3 separate regions of the Homo sapiens genome follow, and regions 1 and 3 are each linked to region 2. Evidence: promoter capture Hi-C in human tissues and cell types (Jung and others, 2019). All regions are on one chromosome and are shown on one strand. The core of a region is centred on a gene start or on the middle of the fragment in contact, and the rest is flanking DNA. Distances in the headings are between cores, read along the strand shown.

Region 1 (3,588 bases), core at 403-2,902, 280 kb before region 2:
CTGAGGAGCTGGACAGGATGATACGAACTCTACACATTTACTCTAAAGAGGTTAAAGTCTCTGCCCTAACCCACTGCCCAATTCTTCATCCTGCCTTCCTTCCAAAGCCACTGGCTAAGGTGAGGTGTAGTGGTGGACACAGACCTGTATAGGAAAGGAGTGGACTGTGGGCCTGGCCCTTATCTTACTGGATGGAAATGTGGGAGAGCAGAGGCTTGTTCACTTTGTCTTTAGCATCTAGAATCTGTCTGGACCATCGTAGGTACTCAATCAATAGCTATGTGGCAAATGAGTATGCCAGTGGGGTAACCCTGGGCAAGTCCCTTCACCACACTGGGTTGGTCCCAATGTCCTGTGAGATAACAGGGCTAGGTGAACTAATTCCTCAGTTCCTGGCTAGTGCTCCAGGCTGAGATTCTCTGTCTGGTGAACTTGATTTCATCACGTGGCAGATGTTACCCAGGGTAGATCCCTCCCGGGGTCTTGCTAACCTGACAAATGAAAGCGAAAGCTTGCCTTCCAACCCACTTAGAACAGTGCCGGAACCTTATGATGAGCTCATTGATGAAATTTAACCCCAATGCACTTTCACTGTTGGAATAGAACTTCTGCAGAATTGCCACGACCTGTGAAAAACATCAAAAGAGCACATTTAAAATGCTGCCATCTATTTGAATTACGAATACTACTCTACACGGAAACTAGACATTTTTATGCATCCTTCCACCTTTAAAATGAATTTATAGGCGCAGGAGAAAGTAATTTTTGTCACGGTCATCATTAGAACACAGAGAAAAAAGATGTTTAAATATAGGCAATACACACACACACATAAAACCCTTCATAAAAATGAAACTTCAAAGGAGACTGACATTAGAAAAATACATTCTTAATCTTAAGGTTCCAAATTTTAGAGCATGTCCCCTTGCTTAATAACTAAATCATTACCTTTCAGAACATGTCATTTTTATAAAATTTTAATACCATCAGAGTATCTTAAAATCAATATTGTCAAATGTGATTTTTTTTCATCAGTATTCAGCTGGTGTAAAGCCCACATAAAAAAATAGGATCAGCTTTTCTACAGCAGAGTCTTTGCTCACTAAATATTTTTCTACAAAACCAAGCTGTAAATCAACCTGTATTTTAAAAACACTAACCTATGGCTTAAAGAGTTTCATATATAAAAGGATTACTCCACAATTGCCGTCACTGAAACATATAACAAAAAAAGCTATCCTACAAATTGATAAAACTATAATATAGTTCCTAATTTCAAATTTTAAAAGCTAGTTTCATAGGTTAGCTGACAAAGTAAGCCCAGAAAAATTAAAAGAGTTAAAATGGAAGATACATCAACATTCCTATTTGTAAAAATCACAGAGCAAATGCCCTGATTCCTTACTAGTTTGAAGGAGATCCACCGAACTTCAGAAACTTGATCTGCACACAACTTTAAGGCAATGTGCATTAGGTAATCATAAACATCATTGGGACTATAGAGTTCCAGAATCAGTATCAGCTGTCTGAAATTAAAAGGAAAACAACAACAACAAAAACAACAACAAAAAAAACATTATTTTTGGGCAAAAAAACAAAATTATTGATTTCTTTTTACTGTTATTTCATCTTACAGATAAAAATAGCCAGGCTGGGAAATGAACAGCAAAAGACCCAGCAAGATTTCGGTCTTCAGTAAAATGCCAACAGCAGAAAGCTGAGCAAAATGACCATGCAAAAAAAATGTGAACAAAATTTTAATTCTTCATCTCACACACATACAAATCAAACAAAAAGGAAATAAACTCTGTAAAATAGAGGCTGAGAAATTTATGAATACAGATTTAATATTTCAATTTTAGGTTATCAGTTGAAAAGCACATAAAACTTTAAAAATCAGATAACATAAAAATAGCCAGAATGTTGAAGTTCACAAAGGTCAACAGATCAAGCGAACACTCTGAGATTGCACGACCGCCCCGGCGTTTCTCCGACTGCAAACCGAACCGGATGCTCCTGCTCGCGGCTCTTGGCAGCACGAGGTGGTTTCACTGCAGCGAGGTCCGCTTGGAGAGAACTGGGAGCGCGTGCTCCTTACTCCGAAAGACAAAAGCATGCAGGAGACGGCTGGCTGCGAAAACCCACTACCAAAGCTTTCACTACTTTCTAAATGGGGATGGGGAGAAGGGCATGAAAATAAATGACATTGCTTTCACCCAGGCAACGAAAGGAAATGAAAAAGAGATGGGGAGGAAGTTAGAACCAGAAGCCCGGAGTGCTGGTGAATACTTTCATATCAAAAAGCACCGTTTTCAAAAACATGATACCAATATCATGGGCACCGGAGCACAGAATTCATATCAGTCGCTGTGGCTTCAATAAGCCGGGAGATGGGAGATAGGGCGCGTAGGGGGCTAGATAACGTGGTCGGGCACTGGGGCCGCGCAACCACCCGGGGAAGCCCCGCCGGGCACCGAGCGCGCCTACTTCCCGTGCGCCGCCGCTAGAGGTCGCACTGCTTTCATGGAAAACGTGGGCCTGTTTTTCTCGACTCAGAACAGGATGCTGGGAACATGGTAAAATGACTGAAACCTCAATCTCTCAAATTAAGCAGAATGATTAAAGACCACAGCAAAGAGAAAGGCTTTCGGTTTGCCCCTGGCATCAGCCAAATCATATCCTGAATAGCTGCAAAAGCCTGATGAATTTATTCAGGGAAGACAATTATTTGAGAGATTTCTAGTTGTGGATGAGAAAAATGAAAACTAAAGACACCGAAATGAAAACAAGGTAAAAACTAAAACCCAAACAACAACTGCCACAAACAAATTCCCTCCACACCGTGAAAGGCACATTATATACCTTAGGAAGGGGAGTTATTTAAACTGATGCTTCCACCCTTTCATCATCACTAAAGCCTGGAACATTCCTTTTGCCAGCTCAAGACAGAATTAAATAACTCCTTCAGGCACAAAATGATGTGCAGATAGGAGCCACCTTGGGGAACCTTTTTGTTTCATAATCATCTCATCTGGGTTAGACCCCTTCCTGTCTCCCACAGTAGCTAAAGGGCATTAAGCATGCTGTACCCTACGGAGAGGACCACACTCAGAATGTTCAGGAAAGCTCTGGTAAAAACTGCTCCGATTAATAGGAAAACACTGAAGAGTGGGTGATTCATCTTTTATTTGGTTCAAATAAATTGCCTTCTAGAACAGCAGAACACTCTAATTCGAAAGTGACTCAAGCCCTGTCTTCATCTGAAAATGAATGTCTCCCCGGAGACTGTGGTATTTGTAACTCAGGGTTTTTGGAATTCTGTTTATACCTTAATAAAAACATAATCTCTTTATCTAAAAGAACACTATTGCTGCTGCTTTAGAAATCAATTATATGGTAAGAAAATTAAGATTTATTCCATCTAGTTTGCTTTCTCATATCCCCAAATATGTTTTTACTTACTCTGCTAGTTCATATCGAAACCTCCAATTCCTGCTGTTATCAGTCACTACAAATTCTTGAAGCTGATAAAGATAGTCTCTCCTCTTGTCTTCATGAAGCAACTATTTTTTAAAAATGTATATATAA
Region 2 (3,623 bases), core at 375-2,874:
GGAAAGAAAGTCAAGGCTGAGAGAGCCGATGGCCATGCTTACCCAAAGCCAGACGGGTTGATATGATGTTGATCTGGGCTTCCCAGCCAGGTGGTCTAACTCCAGGGCCAGAATTCTCAGCCATTCATAATGTGAGGGTGCTTGGGGATGAGCCCCCAGCTGGGCACACTTCAACTGTGGTTACTGTCATTTTTGTCAGTGGTGACTGGGCCCCTGTGATGGCACACTCCAGTCAGCTGGCCTTTGTACAGTTTTGTCTACCCTACTCCCCACCCCCACGAAGAGCCACCAGGGAACCCCTTAGTCCTGGAGAAGGCATTGACTACTCTACCAGGGGTTCCTGAAGCCCCTTGGTCCCCTTTGTCAGGCCTGCTGGGCACAACTCGAGCCTGGGGTCACTGCGCGCTCCCTAGCTTCTCCCCGAGTCCTGCTGCAGGAAGAAGCCCCGACCCCGCACAGGTCAGGATTCCGTGGGCAAAAACAACCCCAGTAACCTTGGTCTGAATAGCCGGGCTTGTCCCGCACCATGGGGGTCTCAGTGGGCCTGGGATCCTCCTGCATCTTCTTGGAGGCCCCGGTCCCACTGGGCCCGGCACAAAGGGCAGCTCTGGGTACCTACAGGCCAGGCCCCGACTGGCGCAGAGAGTGCAGCGGCTCTCATATTGCGAGGTGACGCGACTCCCTCCCGCAGGCCCCAGGAAGCTCCTGGAGGCGCGCAGGTGCCGGCCAGGTGAGACTGGAGAAAGGCGCGCAGGGCGCAGCATAGCAGCCGCGTGGGCCGACCCAGGGCCGTAGTCCCCAAGGGCCCTTAGGGGACATTAGACGGCGAGCTCCCTCCCTTCCGAGCTCAGCCAGTTTGCCGGGTGGGGGAGGGTGGCACCTACCTCCCAAAAGCACCAGGACGCAAGCGTAGGGGAGCATGGCTGCGGGCATCCCGTCGGGGCTGGCAGGACCGCCCGCCGGGCGCTGCCACGGTGCGCAAGGGGAGGCGCGGGCGCAGGGCTCTCGGACGGCTGCGGGCGCCGGCGGCCAGGCTGGAGTCCTGCGAAGAAGTTGCGAGGGTCCTGCGCCCCCCTCGGCGCTCACACGCGCTCAGCCTTCCCGGCTGTTGATAGTTGTAAGCGGAGCTGCGCACTCATAGGTCCAACTTGCCAGAAGAGGTGGAGACAGCCCCCGGCGAGGCGCGCACACCCGCGCAGCGCGCACAGCCCCCTGGTGCAGCTCCTGCCATTCAGACCCCCAGCCCTCCCCCAGATGTCCGTCCCCTGGCCGTCGCCTTCCCCAAAGTCTTCGCAGTGGGCAAGGAGGCCTCCCCCAAGCTCTGGTCCCGGCCAAGGCAGAGCGATGCGCTCCTTGCGTCAAAGCGCACCCCTAGCCAGGCCGTTCCCTGGAAGGGCAAGCGGGGCGGGGAGTTCCTCTAAGCCCCGCCAGTCCTGGGACCCCTGAAGTTTCTATTCAGGTCTTCCAGCTACTCCTGGAAAAGTCGCGTCAACTTGGATCCCAGCAAACCCAGAAGCGCAGTGAAAGTGGCCAACCCGGTCGCCTAGAAGCCAGCCCCGGCCTCTGTCTGTAAATGAGGCCGTCACCCGCTCCCCACCACACCCAAACGCATCTAGGCAAAGTGTGGACCCGACCAGGCGGGTTTTCCTCCTTCTCGCAACTCCTCCTCCTGCCCCCCTCCCTCCCAAATCTCATCTGAGTGAGTCAGCTGAGGGTGGCAGCTCAGAAGCGAGGCAGCCGTGAGGCGGAGGACAGGCTGGGGGATCCCAAAGGGTGCGCTCCAGCCCCCAACCCAGGCACTGGGACTCTGGTGGCACCCTGGGTGGCAGGCAAGCCTTGAAATCAAGTGCACGAGCCTTGGAAAGGAGGACCGGGAGAGTTATGGCATTTATGAATGAAGAAGAGAAAGAGAATCACTCGGATGGGAAAAGTTAACTGGATTGTTCCCACCTGCATGGATCACCGGGTAACTGCAGTGGGACCGAGGGGGCGAGGCTGCGGGCTGGGGATGTGCGGGTTTCCTTGTGTTGCCACGAACCCAGAGAGGGAGAGGAAGAAGATGGAAAGAAAAAGGAAAAAGGGAAAGAAAGTAAGAGGGGAGAGAGGGGAAAACTGAGGATGAAGAGAGACAGAGAAGAGAGACCTGAGAGAGGGAGAGAAAGAAAGAGACAGAAAGAGAAATGAAAGTGAGGAAAGGGGAAACAGGCAGAGAAAGAGAGAGAAAGGGGAGGAAAGAGAAAGGGAAAAGAAAGGAGGGAGTGAAATCAACAGAAAAAAGAGAACCAGGAAGGAGGAGGGAGGGGGAGAGAGAAGAGAGAAGAGAGAGAAGAGAGAACAAGAGAGAAGAGAGAAGAAGAGAGAAGACAGAGATGCGGTCTCCCTGGGGAAAGGTTTGGAGAACTGGGCCAGGCCTGTTTCCCGGGACTCACGAGTGAGCAGTCCACCTGCCCCTCTGAAGCATTTTATAGACTCATTTGTCCCACTTTTGTGGGCTGATCATCCCACAGGGGAACAGGGGACACCACCTCACCTTTTGATTTCTTACCAGAAACTTGGGCGAGGCTTCCAGGAGCCACAAGAGCCCTTCAATCCACCCAGGGACCCCCGATGTGGGCCCACCAGCCATCCTTAGCTTTCCTCCTCTCCAGAGGCAACAGGGAATAGGAAAAAGTCCAGAGCAAGGCCACACCATGATCTTAACGCAAATGGAAATGTGAGGAAAACGATCAATTTGCTTCCTGAAAATGACATTTTTTTTTTCTGGTTTCTATGAGACTCGAGGTGGCCTTGCTGAAACTGAAATCGGTATGAGCTTTCCCTGGCAGACAATGGCCATTGTCACATATTAAATTCTCATGAAAGGGATAACTTTGTGGGCAAGAGGAGAGTTGTGCAGGGTGATTATTTATACTTGCATAATTGTGATTATTTGTGGCAATTATGGGTCTTTCAATGTACAAAATTTACAATTATGGGTAGTTTAAAAACTACATGCTAAGGCCGGGTGCCGTGGCACACACCTGTAATCCCAGCTCTTTGGGAGAGCCAGACGGGTGGGTCACCTGAGGTCAGGAGTTTAAGAGCAGCCTGGCCAACATGGTGAAACCCCGGCTCTACTAAAAATACAAAAATTAGCTGGGCGTGGTGGCGGGCGTCAGTAATCCTAGCTACTCCAGAGGCTGAGGCAGGAGAATCACTTGAACCTGGGAGGCGGAGGTTGCAGTGAGCTGAGATCATGCCATTGCACTCCAGCCTGTGTGACAAGAGTGAAACTCCATCTCAAAAAAAAAAAAAAAAAAGTTAAAACTACATGCTATTCTGGCCATAATCATTTGAGACTTCAGTCTCTGGGCTTTCCGGATGTGGGTATTTCAAAGTCCCAGGCGGCTGATGGGGGTTCACGCATTAGTGGCATTTTGTGGGGAGAATGGGTGTTACATTGATGTCCTACATAGGGTCATAATTCAGTATTTTCAGAACTTATTGTACTGCTGTTAGAGATACGAACTTTTCCACAAAGTATGATGCTTGTGTATTAATAGTTGTACTGGCTTATTTATAAATGAGAGGATTTGCTGATAATTATTGAGACTGTGGCATGGGCCAGGCACTAGTTAGGTTGA
Region 3 (3,392 bases), core at 108-2,607, 330 kb after region 2:
GGGAGGAGGAGGAGCAGGAGAATAAAGCTAGCTAAACATGATGATATGCCCCCAATATTGAAGTTGTTTCCTTTAGTACATTAATCATTTGCTTAATGGAAATTTGCTTTTGTGGGGGAGGGGAGGGCGACCCAAAGGTGCTCTTGTAACTGAACTTATCTGAGCTGGGAATTTATGTTGCAATGTTCCAATATTGTGTGGGGTCAACCTGATGTAGGTTTAAAGTTTTGCAAACAAAACTCTTTTATGTTCATCAGAATTCAAGAATTAGAAATGTTACAGTTTGGGATTGTTTTGAGATGTTTCTTTAATGCACTGCAAGCCTTTCTCACCCTGGAGTTGCTTACAGCCTTTAACTCTTCAGCCTTCATTTTCTGCAGCTGTGTGGAAGGTTAAGGAGGAAGAAAGCTGAAACTTCAGTGTTGGTAAGAATGAGGTTTTTTGGTTTTTTAATAATCTACATGGATTTACCTCAATTATCAGTTATTATTATACTGCTCTTCAAGAAGAGGGAAGCTTTTGAGAGGAAACTGAGCAGAAACCATGGTGTGAGTAAAGCATGTCTCCTAACTGCTTACCTGGAAGGTGACCTATCACAAAAACCAAATCACTAAAATAAAATTAAGCTTCCAGGCCAGTGATGTCATGTGCTGGCTCAACTGCTGCTCTTCTCTAAAAAATCACCCAGCAGAGGGATGAGATGCTCAAATGACATCTTTAATCCCCATGTTCAAGAATGAGAGATGGAATTTCTTGTTCTGTTGTGGGGTTTTGACACTAATGACTCTATTTCCTATAACTTGATGTCCCAAACTGGAGCAGTGGGATCTAAGACGAAAGGCCCAGGGCTAGCAGCCCAGGTTGCTTCTAGCCATGGTCAAGTGGCCTTAGGTCAGACCCAACACCCCTCTGCCTCAGTTTCTTCTAAAATGAGATCGCTGAATGAGATGATCCTATTTATCCCTTTCAGCTCCAAATGTCTAGATTGATTAGCTTAAGAAGCCTGGGGTTGTCCAATTTGACTCTACACTAGTGATTTAACCCTAATGGAACTCCCAAAAAACATCGAAAGTTGCTCAAATAAAAAGCACCAGCTAGGTATCGCGCCATTGCACTCCAGCCCGGCCTACAGTGTGAGACTCCATCTCAAAAAAAAAACAAAACAAAACAACAACAACAACAAAAAACCCCGAAAAACAAAAAAAGCACCAGCTAGGAAGAAATCTGTTTTGTGTTGGCTTCATGTAAATTTTGTCAAATCTGCTTTACAGTTGGTTGCAAAATGGTCTCAAAAGGCAGTTTAGAGAATGCAGAATTCCACTGTGTCCTTTCCCTAAACTGGAAACACTTAGCCATCCTGAGAGTCGTATTTAGTGTGTGTTTTACGTGTGTGTGTGTGTTCCCCACCTTCTGTCCCTGACCTTGGTGTCTAAGAACAAGCTTTTCAGAGCAGGAGCAGGCAGCAAGGTTGCAAGTACTGACCTAGTACTGCAGCTTGGAGAGGCTAACCACTGTGGGGGACGGCAGACTGATGGGAACATTGGTTGAGTGACCACAAGTGCTGTTGAAAGTTTTTTGGTAACAGTTTTAAGTGTTTTGGTTAAGCTAGACCTGAAAAAAATGGTATAGAAGCTACAGCTATTTGAGATAAACCAGTTTTCTCAACCTTTGTTTTTTTCATGATCACTCCCCTCTTCGCTTCTTCAGACATATGCTTCTTACTTGCCCCTCCCCATGACATTTTAATACCATGGACATACAGCTAGACCCCACTGTCTGTTTATGCACTGCAGGACCTTGTCACAGCTAAGACTTGTTTGCGCACCGCATCCCCCAAAACCAGTTTTGCCTCCATCATACATGCATGGGATAAACAAAGCAAGCATTTCAAAAACAAAAAAATCTGGTTCTGTCAAATTAAGTGATGTAGCACCCATTTTTGTTTTATAATTTCTTTCTTACATATCAAAAGGCCATATGTGGGGGGTGGGGGGCATAAATTTTTTACTGGTATTTGTTTTCTTTCCCTTGTTTAAAAATCTCATGAGTTTTTTCAAACGCCTCCAATAGCTATGCTGGTCCAAGCACTAGTGGCCATTAATTCACAGGGCAGAGAAGCCAGAATAAACAGCCTAGTGACTTAGTTCTCCCAAGGCCAAGAGCCTGCAATGCGGGGCCACCATTACCTGTTGACAGTGCTCAGCCAGCAGAGGCAGGACTCTGCCTGCAACTATTCCCGGGTAGAAATGGGGAGGCTGCCTTCCCAGCTCCCACTGGGCATAGCCTGTGTGTTTATTTTTTGTGTTTATTTTAGGGTAAGTATGTTACAAATTAGCAGGGCACATGGCTATGAGAAAGGCCAACATAAACCCAGGCAGCAGGGACAGAGGGTAAGTGGTGACAGTAAAGTGGGGAGAGATTTAAGGAAGACAAAAGGAAAAGAAGAATTTGAGGGATCACAGAAAAAAAGGAAGATGTGGGTAGATAAGAGAACCCCTGGGAAGGAGCAGAAAAGAAGATTTAGAAATGGGGAAGGGGGTCACAAAGCCAGGAAATTTGGCGGTTATAAAGAAAGTCGTTTGAAGGAATAAAGAGAGTCTTGAAGAGAGAAAGGTTGAGGGCAGCTTCAAGTATCTGGTGGCTAAGGGGGTTAGAACCAGGTGCATCAAGGGACAGACTTCAGCTCAACATTAGGAAGGGCATTTTTAAAAGCCAAATATGGCATTGGAGGGCTACCAATGAGGCTCACAGATTCGACACCATTAACATCACTGTCCCCCTGAGAGTTTCGTACAGACCTGGTCCAAAAATTCCAATTTCATAGGTGTGGAGTTTTCATACAAGTACTTCAATTGCTACACTCAAAGAGAAAGATTTAACACCTAGAAATCTAGCTGTCTAGCTCCAAGGCTAAAGCTTTGGGTTTTGGTTCACAGCAAGGTTGGTCTTCAAGGTCCCCACTCTCAAACTTGAGGGGTCCAAGGGGCACAGGCCAAAGACCGGCAGCCAGCAGAAGACCACGTTTCTTCTCCCCTCAACCCCATGTGAGAGCTGGTTTCTGAGTGTCCTGGCTTATGTCGCTGTCTTAATTAGATTTCATTAGGAAAATTTGCCCTGGGTAATTGAGGTTGTTCTAGAAGGTGAAATATACCATTCCCCTTAAACAATGATGCCCAGAAGCCCCCAGGGTGGCTGGAATTCCCACTATGAATTGCAGAAATTTTAAGCAGAGCTTCCACTAAAGCCAAATTTACCTTCCGAGATTCCCTCTTTCCCCTCCAACCCCCACTTTTGCCTCTCTCTTAGTTGCTTTCCCATGGTGCTGTTCATCTTTTCTGGAATGGCCTCTCCTCCCCTGAAATTCTTTGCTGCATCATCAGCTAGTCTGGAGA

The links. Contacts are between HindIII fragments. The study calls those that stand out against the background at their distance.
Region 1: a contact is called between a fragment that was not itself captured here and the fragment with the promoter of APCDD1L in region 2, in 2 of the 25 tissues and cell types used here (H1 embryonic stem cells and thymus).
Region 3: a fragment that was not itself captured here is called in contact with the fragment with the promoter of APCDD1L in region 2 in 3 of the 25 tissues and cell types used here (IMR-90 fibroblasts, mesenchymal stem cells and mesendoderm cells).

The regions. Positions count from the first base shown.
Region 1 is chr20:58,234,749-58,238,336 of GRCh38, forward strand. It overlaps the pseudogene PPP4R1L. Among named protein-coding and RNA genes, the nearest start is that of ANKRD60, 7.9 kb to the left of the region's middle. RefSeq lists a silencer at 2,377-2,426. The HindIII fragment of the contact is 3,619 bases long and covers 1-3,462 here.
Region 2 is chr20:58,513,775-58,517,397 of GRCh38, forward strand. APCDD1L (APC down-regulated 1 like) reads right to left here and starts at 1,625. Exons shown (of 4, transcript NM_153360.3): 1 at 885-1,625. The coding sequence starts at 933. APCDD1L-DT (APCDD1L divergent transcript) reads left to right here and starts at 1,605. Exons shown (of 7, transcript NR_034147.1): 1 at 1,605-1,966. RefSeq lists an enhancer at 228-1,226. The HindIII fragment of the contact is 21,415 bases long and covers 1-3,623 here.
Region 3 is chr20:58,843,650-58,847,041 of GRCh38, forward strand. It overlaps GNAS-AS1 and a transcript of GNAS not described here. Among named protein-coding and RNA genes, the nearest start is that of MIR298, 27 kb to the left of the region's middle. The HindIII fragment of the contact is 4,082 bases long and covers 1-3,392 here.